Linked DNA regions of Homo sapiens: region 2 is linked to region 1. The links are contacts of gene promoters, found by promoter capture Hi-C in blood cells and fetal thymus (Javierre and others, 2016). All regions are on one chromosome and are shown on one strand. Each heading gives the region's core, a stretch centred on a gene start or on the middle of the fragment in contact. The rest is flanking DNA. Distances are from core to core; before and after follow the strand shown. Region 1 holds the start of TMEM215 (transmembrane protein 215). Region 2 holds the start of LOC107987060 (a long non-coding RNA gene).

Region 1 (6,976 bases), core at 3,007-5,506:
ATCTTTAGCCTTCAAAGTTTCAGAAGTTCCAAAAACTCTACTATCCTTTGAGATGGAGTCTCCTTCTATCACCCAGGCTGGAGTGCAATGGCTCAATCTTGGCTCGCTGCAACTTCCATCTCCAGGCTCAAGCAATTCTCCAGCCTCAACCTCCCAAGTAGCTGAGACTACAGGCACATGCCACCACACCTGCTAATTTTTGTATTTTTTGTAGAGATGGGGTTTCACCATGTTGGCCAGGCTGGTCTTGAACTCCTGACCTCAGGTGATTTGCCCACCTCGGCCTCCCAAGGTGCTGGAATTATGGGCGTGAGCCACCAGGCCTGGTCTCTATTATCCCTTTAGGGTTGGATAGCTGAGCTGGAAGGAAGAAGTGAAGCAAAAGGAGGAGGAACCTGAGAGATGGGGGTGATGGCAAAGTCTAGGGAATACACTTTACCAGCCAGCATGTGGTTTGTCCTGCTCTTTTGTCCCTCTGCTACAAGATCGGCCGTGTCCTAAATGGAAGCTGCTCTGTCAATCTGAACATCAGAGTGAAGATGACATGGAGAGAGGCAGCAGCTGGCTCATTACAGACATGTATAATATTATGAGCATGTAGCTTTTGTAGAACTAGAGGTCTTTTGTTGTCACCACATAATCTGTCCAGTCCTGACATACACACAACTTGCTCTGAGGGTGTGAGTTCTATAAAGGCAGACCATGTCATATTTGATTTGTACCCCCGGCACCCAGCACAATGCTAAGCACACAATAAATACTCAAGTAATATTGGATGAATGAAGCCTTTCTAGACTTCATCTGTACAATAAAGAAGTTGGAGTAGATGTACTACAGGGTATCTTCAAAGGCTAGCATGCCATGATTTCTATAATTTCAGAAATAAAAGGTTCTGTTTCCTTCTGAAACACCCACATGCCAAAGTCTCATTTCAGCCTGAATTCCTTGCTCTTCTAAGAAAAAGCCTTTGTACATGGCTGTATATGCTTACAGGATTGCAAGAACTGCTTAAGGTTTTAAAATCCAGACTATACAGGCAAGAAATTAAATACTAAGAACACCTTATCTGTCTCTGAGTATTGTGACCCTGAGTGATGTCTCCAATCCCTACCCACTGTTGCTGCTGACTTGGGCAAGTATACCTGCTGTTCAAAGACCATCTGAAATTACCTCTAAGAAGGAATTGCTTTGAAAATGAAGCTTATAATTAAACAGCAATTGAAGTTTCCTGTGGTTTTATGCCCGGGTCTTATCTAATGCCTAAGTAGATAAACTGCATGGCTTAAAAATCAGAAAAGAACTGGATGTTTGTACAAGTGACAGGAGGTCTCCACTCAGCAATCTTGCTTCTTTAGGACCCAACTTTATTTCCAGCACTATTGTCAAAACACGTCCACAACACTGACATCAGCTCAGCCCTGCAGAAGTAACTACAAGAGAACCAAGGAACATTAGAGCTAAAATGAATCTTACCTAGCACCTCATTCAAAGTCTTTGTTTCATTAAGAAGTTGAAACACAGGAAGGTAAAGTTATTTTCCTAGGGTCACCACCATAAGAGGGGATAATCAAAGGACTTAGGAGGTAAAACTATAATGACTTGGGTGACTTACTGGACGTAGGCTGTTAGGGAGAGAAAGGAGTAGAGAACAATTGCAAATATTCTCAGTTGGCAAATGGAAGGAATGATGAGGTTGGGTTTGGAACATAATCCCAAAGGACACAATCCCAAACCCCACAATCCCTAATGTTGAAATCCCCATAGATCAAAATCACTAAAGTCTAAATCCCTGAAGTCTAAAGTCCCTAGCAAGTGTGAGGTGTCTGCATACCATCCAGATTAGAGATATCAAGCAGACAGTTGGATATTATAGATTTGGGGCTGAGGGAAAATGACAAAGCTAAAGAGAGAGTTTTGGGAGTCATCAGCCTATTCAGGCTGTTCGAGGCTATTACAGAATGAGAAGAAAGAGAAGAGAAATCAAGAAAGGGGAGAAGCAAGAATAGAACCCACAGAACATCAGTATCTAAGGGGTTTGTTAAAATAAAAAATAAATAAAATAGGAGTTTATAAAGTAGCCTACAAATAAGTGACCAGGGAGATAGGAAGAAAACTAGGATAGAATGGTGTCAGTAAAAGAAACGGTTTTAAGAAGGGAAAACTTTTCAATAATTGTAACACACGTAGCGAGCTGCTTCCCCAGTATTTAAAAGGAGCAGTATGCTGCTCCTTTTAAACAAAACCCTTTTTTCAGACCATCAGTGGATCTGGTAAATAAATAAACAACAATTTCCCAGGTACCTTTGTATCCCAAAGCTCATCCATCTCTGGTCAATTACAGGCAGATGCCTATCTACTTGGGGGGGCTGCCAGGAAAATTATTATTGTCCTCATACAAGTGGCCAAAGAACTGGCACCTCACTTTTACCCTTTGCATTTTCTCCTTTCTTCCCTCCTAAATGATTCTATGCCTAAAGGTGCAGCAGCTGTCTAATGGTCATGAGTACAAAAGATACAAAATAGATGATGGAGAGGAAAATGAGAAGGATCTGCTTCCTGATCCACCCCTTTGAAAGTGAGAAAGTTGGGAGTTGACCTTGGCTCCTCCCTTCATCTCACTTCACTGTGCTCCAAGACACTTCACTCAACCCTTAAATACCCTCAGATCTGCTTCCTTCCAACTCCTCTACCAGCCCGACATTGTTAAGGCCACATCATGTCTTGCCCGGCTTACTGAACTTCTCAGCTTACTGAACAAGACTCCCGGCTTCCAGACTTACCAGCTCCAACCTATGCTCTCACCTGCCGCCCCTTTCAGTCAAACTGGAATGTTTTTGTATTGATCTTTGCTTAAAATACATCAAGCGTTCTTCATTGCCTAGTGGATAAAAAGTCCTTAGTCTCACAGCCTTTATGATTTGTTTGGCTCCTGTCATACATGATGAAGACACTAATTATGATGACAAATATATATACATATACATGTGTACGTGTGTGCATGTGTGTGTAATTTTTGTACACAGACTATGTACCAAGCATTGTGCTAGGAACTTTACGTTTATTTAATCCTCACAATGTTTCCTCATATATTTGGTATTAATCTCATTTTACAGATAGGACGACTGATTCTCAGAGAGGTTAAGTCACTTGCCCAGGAATATACAGCTAGTTTAACTGGGGAAGGCCTGGATGTGAAAATTCTTTCCAGTAAATCAGTGTCTTGACATGAAAGCATGTACCGCTCATCAACCTGTTCTCCACCGCCCTCCTCTATCCTAAATGGGCAGCCCTGTTGAAGAATCACAGCCAAAGCCAGTCTTGCCCCCCGGGGCCAGAGGAATCCATCTGCCCCTGCCTACCAGAGCGGGAGGAACGCAGGCTCTCAATGCCTGCTTCAGCAAGGGAGGAGAGAATCGCCCAGAGCTGAGCGGCGTCGTAGGGTGGTGGTCCTGACCGGTCAAGGCCCCTTCTCCTCGTGAACTGGGGGCCAGGGAGCCCTTCTCCCTGTCCCCCCGGCACCACAGCGCTGTAGAAGTGAAATCCCGGCTCCAAGGTCACCCTCTCCCGAGCCTGGAGCTGGAAAGCCACGGGGACTCCGGGGACTCCCCCAAGGCCCGGACTAGCCTGGCACCCACCCCTCACCACTAACCCACTCCGCCTGGGCGCTGGTTCTGTGCGCTCCCGCGGCGCAGTCGCTCCGCTGCAAGAGCGCTTTCGCGCGCCGCCACCGCCCAGAGCCGGGACCAAAGCAGTCCTCGGGCACCGGCTCCCCGAGGGACACACACCCCCCCGCGCCCCGAGTCGAGGGGTTGAGAGAAGGGCGGTCGGGGAGCCCCTGGGCCTGCCGTCAGTCACCCGGATTTGTAACTGGAGAAGGGTGCGGGTCCCGGAGGGACATCTCCAGCTGGCACCTAACTCCTCGGATCCCGGACTGGGAGCCCGAGCTCGGATATTGCAACGGCTGCCCCGTGGGCAAACCGACCCTGGTTTCCGACTCCGGCCACTGGCAGCCTCGCGCCCCAGACCCTTCCCGGGCACGGAAGCGGGTCAGGTCGCCCTGCTCAGCCTCCGGAACGGCGGCGGCACAAACCCCGGCCGCTCCCAGCAGCCCCGACGAGACCCCGGGCAGCGCCTGCCGCCGGGTGGCCTCCCTCTGGGGCTGACCCCCTCGCGCCCCCGCGCGTCTGTCTGCGTTTCTGAGCCTGCTCTGACAGTGATGTAACAAGGCCAGGCTCGCGCCGCGTCCCCTCTTTCCCAGACTCAGTGCTCCCTCCTCCTCCCGCGCCCCGCGCTCTGCGCGCTGAGCTGGCGCCGGGCTCCGCTTGCACAGCACCGGGACCGACGGGCACTGCTGGGAGAGCCGCTCTCCCAGGTTCCACCTCCCCGATGCAGAGTCCGTGGGGGAAACCAGGCTTTCCTCCCAGAACCAAGGGAGCGAGCCGAGGGGGCAGCTGCTGTGGGGGCTTCTGAGGAGACAGCCTGGCTTCTTTCCCTACTTCCTGGAGAGGGCAGGAAACCTCAGGTACCTCGTTGACCCCAGCCGGAGCGTGTTGATATGAGAGAGAGACGGAGGTTGCAATAGTGAGAGGAAGAGAGGGAGGGCACAAGAAAGGGAGGGAGGGAGAGGGGACGGAGAGAAAGAGTAGAAATAGAAACAGGGAGAGATTGCAAGAGAAACGCAGAGAGAGAGATAGAGAGATTGCAAGAGAGATACAGAGACAGAGATCAAGACTGAAAGTCAAGAAGCAAGTCGGAGACAAAGGGCAAGAGAAAGACAAGAGTTGATGGGTGGGAGCTTGACTTGGATTTTTTTTTAACGCACTGTGGTTTCATCTCTGACAGAATAGAGGAACGCTGCTCCCTGGTCAGCAAGCAGCCCCCAACCTGGATGGAGTGAAACATGCGGCCTGATGACATTAACCCGAGGACTGGGCTGGTGGTGGCCCTGGTCAGTGTCTTCCTCGTCTTTGGTTTCATGTTCACCGTCTCTGGGATGAAAGGGGAGACTTTGGGAAACATCCCCCTCCTGGCCATCGGGCCAGCCATCTGCCTACCAGGCATCGCAGCCATTGCCCTGGCCAGGAAAACCGAGGGATGCACCAAGTGGCCAGAGAACGAGCTGCTGTGGGTCCGCAAATTGCCCTGCTTCCGGAAACCCAAAGACAAGGAGGTGGTAGAGCTGCTGAGGACCCCTTCAGACCTAGAATCCGGCAAGGGGAGCTCAGATGAGCTGGCTAAGAAGGCGGGCCTCAGGGGGAAGCCTCCCCCACAAAGCCAGGGTGAGGTGTCCGTGGCCAGCTCCATCAACAGCCCCACACCCACGGAGGAAGGAGAATGCCAGAGCCTCGTCCAGAATGGGCATCAGGAGGAGACGTCCAGATACCTGGACGGCTACTGCCCCTCGGGCAGTTCCCTCACCTACAGTGCCTTGGACGTCAAGTGCTCAGCAAGGGACAGATCTGAGTGCCCTGAGCCTGAGGATAGCATCTTCTTTGTGCCCCAGGACAGTATCATCGTTTGCTCCTACAAGCAGAACAGCCCGTATGACAGATACTGTTGTTATATCAATCAGATACAAGGCAGGTGGGACCACGAGACCATCGTCTAATCTCTGCCTACAAAGGTGGCTGGATTGATAGAATATGACTAAGCCCAGCTCCCCGTGGAAGCAAATTGCTCTGCTTGGAGAGCCTTCACACTGTTAGAAATTGACCTGGTATGTGATGGGTGTGATAACCTCTGGTACCCGAGAGTCATGTAAATAGGCATGTTGGGGACACATTTTAGGGAAGGGCGATGAGGGTTAAGGACACTGGAAGAGGCAGTGGGTAGGAAAGGAAGCTACTCCAGTTGCTTCTTAACAATTTACACAATGTTAAATGTTTTGTAAAATAACCCAAAAAGTGCTATCCAGAACCAGCTGAGAGCAAGATAAATCTAGAGTGGGCTGCAGATGTGAGGCATCAAATGATGCATGAGCTGACCACAGGGAAACTGAGCTGCTTTATGTTTGAATAAGTTGAAAATAAAATTAATGATCCGTTATATAAAGTAATTTTTGCCTGGTTAAAAGCTTATCACACTTGGTATTTGCTGAAAGAAAAAAAAATCAAGATACAAGAGTTAAACCCTCCTTAGATGGGATGGTTTTTGGGAAAAGGGTAGTTAAAGAGAGTTGGATTATGTAACTGAGTCTTGTGGCATTATTGTCTGACAAGATCATGGTCTCTAATAAAGTAAAATAAGTGTGAGCAGCTATGTGAAAAGTTAACATTTTTAGATGGCTATGTTACTTCTTAAACTCTTCGTTTAAATCCATTTATTGCATCTTTATCTGAAATGGGTTTTTTCTAAACATTTACTATCATTCATGTATTATTTCCTTACCAGGTGCAACATTATTTGAAATGATACTTTCATAGATTGGAATTTGTTTTCATCAAGACAAAATGAATTTTACATATATATCCAAGTCTTTAACATTGGCAGACATGTACTGATAATTACCATTCCTACATACCTTTTAAAATCTGAAAACTATAAAGTCTACACATTAGCCTTGAACATTGCACATAATTTGTATGAAATGCAATGGTTAAACCTTTGGAAGTGTCATTATTTGTACATTTGTTCAACTCCTCTCACAGACTGTAAATGCCAGTGAAACAAGAACTCATCTACTAAATTTAACTGAAGCCTAGATTTTATTAAGCTCACCTGATCAGTGAACATTACATGATAAAAGTCTCTTTATTTCATACATTTTTGCTGCTGAGGAAAACAACAAATCACAATGATATCCTAAAATGTGCTTTCTATTTCACTTGCTCAACTGCAATAGATAAGAAGGCTATCAAGCAGAATGCCATTTGATCCCCGGTGAAGAAAAATATGAATTATATATAGGAATGGTGATAGAGTTCATCTTGAAGATCAGAAGTATTTTGTATCCTTCAAAGAATGATCATTTTAAGTG
Region 2 (6,976 bases), core at 1,679-4,178, 61 kb after region 1:
GTATGATAGCAACTTTAATTTCATGATGCAGTGTTTTATGGTAATGAAAAGAAACACAAGGAATTGTAGGAACACAATAGTTTCATCAACATTAACCTCATAATGCAGTATTTTTCAGTAATGAATGGAAAGAAAAGGAACTGTGTGGGTTGCAGTGACTCACCGCAGCAACCTTCATGAGCAGCAGGTGGAGTAATGAAGGTGATGGGAGAACCATCGTCTCCTCTTCAACATGGCTATTGGTCTCAGTCCTTCTATGTGTTACTAGACTGCACCCTGAAGGTAGAGATCCATCTATCACATTCAGCCTTCTGCCCTTTAGAGCTCCAGTGCTAACACAGTGCCTGGCACATACAGGTTTCTCAATTACTGTGCATTGAAAAAATGAATCTTAAATACTTTCTAAATCTATTTTCAGTTTGCCTGATGGCTAACAAAACATTTCATTGTTCCCTTCTCAATTTATACAATTAAAAATGAAATTACAGTCGGTAATGATTATTGATATTATAATTTTATCTAAATATTTGTTCTGTGTGTCTTTCAAAATTCACCGCCTTTCCTCACTGGCCATGAGGAAAGGAAAATACCTATGTCAGTAAAAGGTTGGAGATCATTGAGCTAAGTGCCGGAAAGTCTGACCACAAAAGTAAAAATATAAAACCAGTTTGTTTCCCTTATTATTGAAAAGGATGGCTCTCAAATCAAAGCAGTAGACATTTCCTCGGGGACAACAATGAGAAAAGCCATAGGCACAATTGAGACTACTAAGAAGATTTGCTTTCTAGGAGCTTACAACTTAAGAAAGTTCGAATGTTTACATAAATGGTTACTTTCCATTAATTCCAAGCTTTGTCTCCACTAAAAATTAATATTATTCCATGTCTAAAATACCCACCCATACATCAATAGTCACAAGCATTTCCCATCGTCTCCATGTTGTAGACATCATAATGGTCTATAATTTTTCCCAAAGGTGGTATAGAGCTTGTCCAGGAAGTCCACTACCTGATACAGTGTGCTGATGTAGAAAGTCGAGGGAAGCCTACTATGTCACTGGAATGGAGCAGGGAGGTAGAAAAAAAGTAAAATCAGGCAAAATAATTGGCAAGACCTAATTAAGCAATGGTACTTCCTTGTTTGGCACAATTTTTTAAAGCTCTCAGAAATCTGAGCCAGGGAGACCAGAAAGTCATGAGTCAGTCAATGGGTTTAGAAAATATCCTTAGTTGTTTGTAACTTGTTTGGTTGGGATTTTGTTTGGGTTTGCTTTTGGTGTTTGGGTGTTGGTTTTGTTTGGGTTTTGCTTAGCTTCATTTTAGACAGTGCTGGCGTATTCCAAGCTAGGGAAGCTGGGTGCATGAGAGCTCTATCCGCTAACATCTGGACTCCCTCTGTTTCTGTTGATCAAGTGAGTGGGTTTATATAACAAGAGATTTACATGGATTGAGACAGCTGTGCAAACTCATTTAAAGAAGTCCCAGGTCGAGGTTAATTTGCTTCCCAGTTATCCTGATTCCTACCTACATTCTAGTTTTGTTTGTTTGTTTTTGTTTGTTTTGTTTTTTTGAGACAGTATCTCTCTCTGTCATCCCGGCTACAGTGCAGTGGCTCAACTGTAGCTCACCGTGACCTTGAACTCCTGGGCTCAAGTGATCTTCCCACCTCAGCCTCTTGAGTAGATAGGACTACAGGCACTTGCCACCCTTGGCCATCTAATGTTTTGTATTTTTTGTAGAGACAGGTTCTCTCTGTTTCTCTGGCTGGTATTAAACTCCTAGTTTCAAGTGATCCTCCCACCACAGCCTTCTAGATCTTTTATTTTTTGGTTGTTAGTGATGCTTTCATATCTTCAGATAGATTTCTCTGAGGTTATACTAGCCTCTGCTGGAGAGAGGTCTTTTGTCTTTTTCCTCCCAGGAAGGAGTCTCTATCAGTGACATGGCATGGCTTTAAACTCTAAAGAGCCGGTCTTTAAGCTCTATGCCTCAGTTTATCCATCTGTAAAACATGGACGCTCTCTTGACCCCCAGTTAGAATCTGACTGCTTTGAGTAACTGCTGTAAACTGCAAATCATTTGCAAGGCTTCCACCTCACAGCTTACAACTTCAATTTATGGGTTTTTCTCAGAAATTTCTAAACTTTCCCCCAGGCAAGGCAACCCTGGTTCTGCCTCATCACAGATGGGGTCATTGTATGTTTTGTTATGGCAGGGAAGAACTATATGGCTTATTTACTTCAGATTAAAAAAAAAATTCCCTGAAATGAAGTATAAGCATTCTAAAGCAATTTCCTGCTGTTTTTGCTAAGCTGCATGCCTTTTAGCTCTAAGAAATTGATTTAAGTTAAAAAAAAAATAAGGTGGTGGGGTGGAGGGACTTAACCAAATCACACCAACGTATTTTATTAACAACATGCCTAAGTGGTAAGCTTGCTGCCACTTGATTCAAATGCCTGCAGTTTCTTCTTTTGCAGATATTATTTACTCTCCACCTGCTGCCAGTCACGCACAAATTGTATAACACTGTAGACTGCTCCAACTCTCTGCCTTTTAAGCTGAAATCCCAATGCCAGTCATGTTAATTTACCTGAAAAGATGGACACACTCAGGTATCTCTGAGCCAGGCAGGTTGGCCTTGTCTTAGGTCATCAACAACTTGTTTCAGTAGCGTGCCTATTTTTAGGTATGAATCCGAACAGTTAATTACCCTTAAGGAAAAGGACACACGGGGGCCCACTGTCATGCCTGCAGCATCATTTTTTACATTGGCACTCTCGATTGTTCTGTCCTCCATACACAGTAAGTAGGGTATGGTTTGCATACTGTTTGCTGGGCCACAGTGGATTTGTACCAAGTCAAGTGTATTCCCTAACCCAGTCTTCCCCGGGGCCACTGTTGAGATGGGGTCAGGGGTGCTGCTAGGAGTGGAGAGAGAGGAGAGTCAATTGGAGGAATGGAAGCTCTGCCTGCAACCTCATTAGGATCAACCTTTACTCATCTAGCACTTTGGTCATTGAGATTGACGCCTCCCCTAACTTAAAATACTTATTATGGGAACCAGGACCTCAGGGTGCGTTAAGCAGGCCCAGCTTCCACCCTGCAGTGATTTGCAATTTCCTTGTTGGGAGCGGTGGCAGCATTGTTAGTTCAGAGAGCTGGGCTTTGCCCTTTTGGGAGGTTGTGGGGCTTTTTGCTCCCAAGAGGTGGCTATTACCTTCCTCATGGGCAGTTTTTTTCTAAACAGGAAGCGGTGGATGAACAATTTTACCATGTCCTCCTCTAGTCTTGGGGATTAAAAATCTTAAGTTATTTGAATCGTTAGGCTGTCGGAAGAAAAAAATCAACTAAGATCGCCATTCTGTCTACAGGGTGAAAACAAACAGAGTGATTTACTGGGCACATTTAGCACTCATTTCCCTTGCAGGAAGCTTGGGATCCCCTGGAGGGATAAAGGATGAATATTTATTGGAGCCTAATAATGGTGGAAAAACCTGATTTTGTATTTTTTTTTCTGTGAAAGAAATAGGGTGATTTTATATATTTCCCTTAGGAATTTCTGTCTCAATAGCGTTTTTGCTATACGTATTCATAATCTACCCTGGTAATATTGTCTGCTAAATACTTATAAATGCAGCATGATCTGGCTATATTGCTTCATCATTAATTGAGGAATATAAAATGCAGTCAGGCCTCCAATCAGTGTTTACAGAGCACCTACCATGTCCCAAGCACTGGACTAGGCACTGAGGGATGTAAAAATGAACAAAATTTAGTTATGCCACACAAGAATTATATAATCCTGCTAGATAAACAGAAATGTGTACAGTTAATCACATACGTATACTACTTGAATATAAAAGTCAGGCTTGCCATGGCCAGGAGAAGGTTTAAAGGGTTACACAGGAAGTATTGACATGTTTCTACCCAAAGGGGGGATATCTTTTATTTCATATAGATTTAGAAAGTTATTCATCTCACCAAAAGGAAGAGATTAACTCATCCAGTCTACAGAATAGGACTGGCAAAGACCCCAAAGGCTTATGAAAATGAATAACTTGGATTAGCTTGGTTCTTCATTTTTGAGCTGCCTTTGAGAATATGGATGAAAACACGGGTCCTCTCCTGGAAAAATGCACATATATACCCAGTCTTGCATGTAATTTCAGGGATACATGGGCCACTTGAAACTTCAACATGGACTGTCTAGAGCACCACCAAATTAGATAAGCAGACAAAAGAGCCAACAATGACATTCTAGTAAACATCAATATTTAGAAGTAAAAAGGCATTTAGAGGAAGTCAAACAGAGAAGAGCCATTGAAAGAAACTATGGCATTGTCAGAATTGAGTTGCACTGTGGGGGCTATTCATCCAGGGCAGCTCTCTGGGTCATCAGGCATCACCAGTTGGTAAAATATCCATGTAAATGCAATAAAATAGATGCATTAGTCTGTTCTCAGGCTGATAATAAAGACATACCTGAGACTGGGTAATTTATAAAGGAAAGAGGATTAATAGACTCACAGTTCCACATGGCTGGGGAGGCCTCACAATTATGACAGAAGGCAAGAAGAAGCAAGTCATGTCTTACATGGAAGGCAGCAGGCAAAGAGAGAAATGAGAGCCAAATGAAAGGGGTTTCCCCTTATAAAACCATCAGATTTCATGAGACTTCTTCACTACCACAGGAACAGTATGGGGGAAACCTCCCCCATGATTCAATTATATTCTGCTGAGTCCCTCCCATAATATGTGGCAGTTATGGGAGCTACAATTCAAGATGAGATTTGTGTGGGGACACAGCCAAACCATATCAATAGAGAAAAATGTATTTACCAAAAACTCCTCTAGAGGGGCTTACCATATATGACTGAATGGAATACTTGGATAGCCCACTTGGGAAAGCAATGACACCTCTAAAGGATATACTCTCTAATAACATAGTCACCAAACTGCCTTCCTAGGAAGACAGGTCAGATTAACTACTTGGCTTTTGTTTTCCTGAGTAGACTCTGTAGGGTTGGGGCCAAAGCTGAACTGCTTGGGGTAGGGCTGGGGTAGTGAAAGCTGGGAGGCTTTTTTGCCTTCAATCCTATCTAGTCAGTACACACTTCCCTCTCTCCATCATCATTACCACCATCATCACAGTCATTATCAACATCATCACTAACACTTGTTCTACTCCAGGCGCTATCTAAATACTACACAGACTAACAATGAATGCTCACAACTCTCCTATGATGTAGACATTATGATGTCCATTTTATAGGTGAGCAAGATGGAAGAGATGAAATTTAAACACAGGGAGTCTAAATCTAGAGCCCTTTTTCTTAGCCACAACACAATACTGATAACATTCAAATAAAACTGTTTGTTTTGTTTTGTTTTTTGAGACGGAGTCTCACACTGTCACTGGGCCTGGAATGCAATGGCGTGATCTTGGCTCACTGCAACCTCTGCCTCCCAGGTTCCCGTGATTCTCGTGCCTCAGGCTCCCAAGTAACTGGGATCGCAGGTGCACACCACCACACCTGGCTAACTTTTTGTATTTTTAGTAGAGATGCGGTTTCACTATATTGGCCAGATTGGTCTCGAACTCCTGACCTCGTGATCCACCTGCCTTGGCCTCCCAAAGTGCTGAGATTACAGGCATGAGCCACCGTGTCCAGGCAATAAAACAATTTTAAAGGACAGAAAACTTTGAGACTTCCCAGGTTGCCCATATGCCTTGGTTTGAGCCTATATGTTTTAGACCTTCCTTGAGTCAGAGAAGATGGAGGAGAAATAAAAGAGCATTGTGTCCTAGAAGCCAAAGGACAAAAAGAATAGAGTGATAACTTTCTCAAGTTTTTAGAGACGTGACCTAGGGTGAGGACTGAAAAGTAACTGTTGGTGTAAGTCATGGCCTTGGCGAGGACAGTTCCTATAGAGTGATGCGGGTGCAGATTGCAAAGGGTTGAGGAGCAAATGAGAAGTGGAGAGGAATCATTGAGTAGATACTACTTTTTCAAATTCTTTAGACAAGAGGACAGAAAACAAATCTACTTTGGGATGAGGAACATCAAATTAAACCCACCTACCAGCTGGCCATGGTGGCTCACACCTATAATTCCTATAAAGCACATTGGGAGGCTGAGGTGGGAGGATTGCTTGAAGCCAGGAGTTCAAGGTTGCAGTAAGCTATGGTTGTGCCACTGCACTCCAGCCTGGGCAGCAGAGTGAGACATCACCTCTAAAAAAATTAATTAATTAATTTAATTAAATAAACCTCCCTGCTCTGCTCTTTTGTAGGAGAACATTTGTGGCACTCCTATTAAAAACTAGGCAATAAGTTTCTTATCGTCATCTCACTTAATTTTCACAATAGACTCATTAGGGTTATCTCCCACATTTTACAGATGAAAATACAGAGGCTCAAAGGGATTGAGTCACACAGCCAAGAAAGCGGCAGAAGCCAACTCTGAACTCAGGATGGTCTGGTTCTGAAACTCCTGACATTTCACTTAATTAAAAGAAAGGAAGACTGCACATATTTATAAACTGAGGTGAAAGAGTTAGAACCAAAGGAGACACTGGGGTTATGGGGTGCAATGGAGAAAGAAAATAACCGATGGTGCAAGGCCCACTAATGATTTCCTTTCTACTGGGTCCTTCCTTCAGCTATTGCATCTCCTAAATTTAATAAAAGTCTGTTGACTACTCAAGCTACAGTTTCATTTCTCTACTCCTCTTTAGAGCAAAACTCCTGAGAAGAGTTGCCCAAACTTGCAGTCTCCCTCCACTTCTTCTTGCCCTATTGTCCCCTGAACACACTCCAAAGCAGGCTTTTTCTCCTCCACACTCCCTGGAAACTGCTCTTGTTAAGGCCACCAGGGATCTCTCAACTGTCACATGCAGAGGGTGATTTAAGAATCAACTTTACCTTGCTTGGCCAGCCATGGTATTTAACACAGTTGACCACAGTTCACTCCCTT

What was found. Contacts are between HindIII fragments. The CHiCAGO score rates a contact against its expected background, and 5 or more counts as called.
Region 2: a contact is called between a fragment that was not itself captured here and the fragment with the promoter of TMEM215 in region 1, in 1 of 17 cell types (M2 macrophages). The highest score is 5.3, in M2 macrophages.

What each region holds. Positions count from the first base shown.
Region 1 is chr9:32,779,284-32,786,259 of GRCh38, forward strand. It overlaps TMEM215 (transmembrane protein 215), which reads left to right and starts at 4,257. Exons shown (of 2, transcript NM_212558.3): 1 at 4,257-4,522; 2 at 4,843-6,976. The coding sequence starts at 4,901. The coding sequence ends at 5,608. It overlaps LOC105376017 (a long non-coding RNA gene), which reads right to left and starts at 3,623. Exons shown (of 7, transcript XR_929559.2): 1 at 3,360-3,623. The HindIII fragment of the contact is 4,873 bases long and covers 1,199-6,071 here.
Region 2 is chr9:32,841,318-32,848,293 of GRCh38, forward strand. LOC107987060 (a long non-coding RNA gene) reads right to left here and starts at 5,415. Exons shown (of 2, transcript XR_007061452.1): 1 at 164-5,415. The HindIII fragment of the contact is 999 bases long and covers 2,430-3,428 here.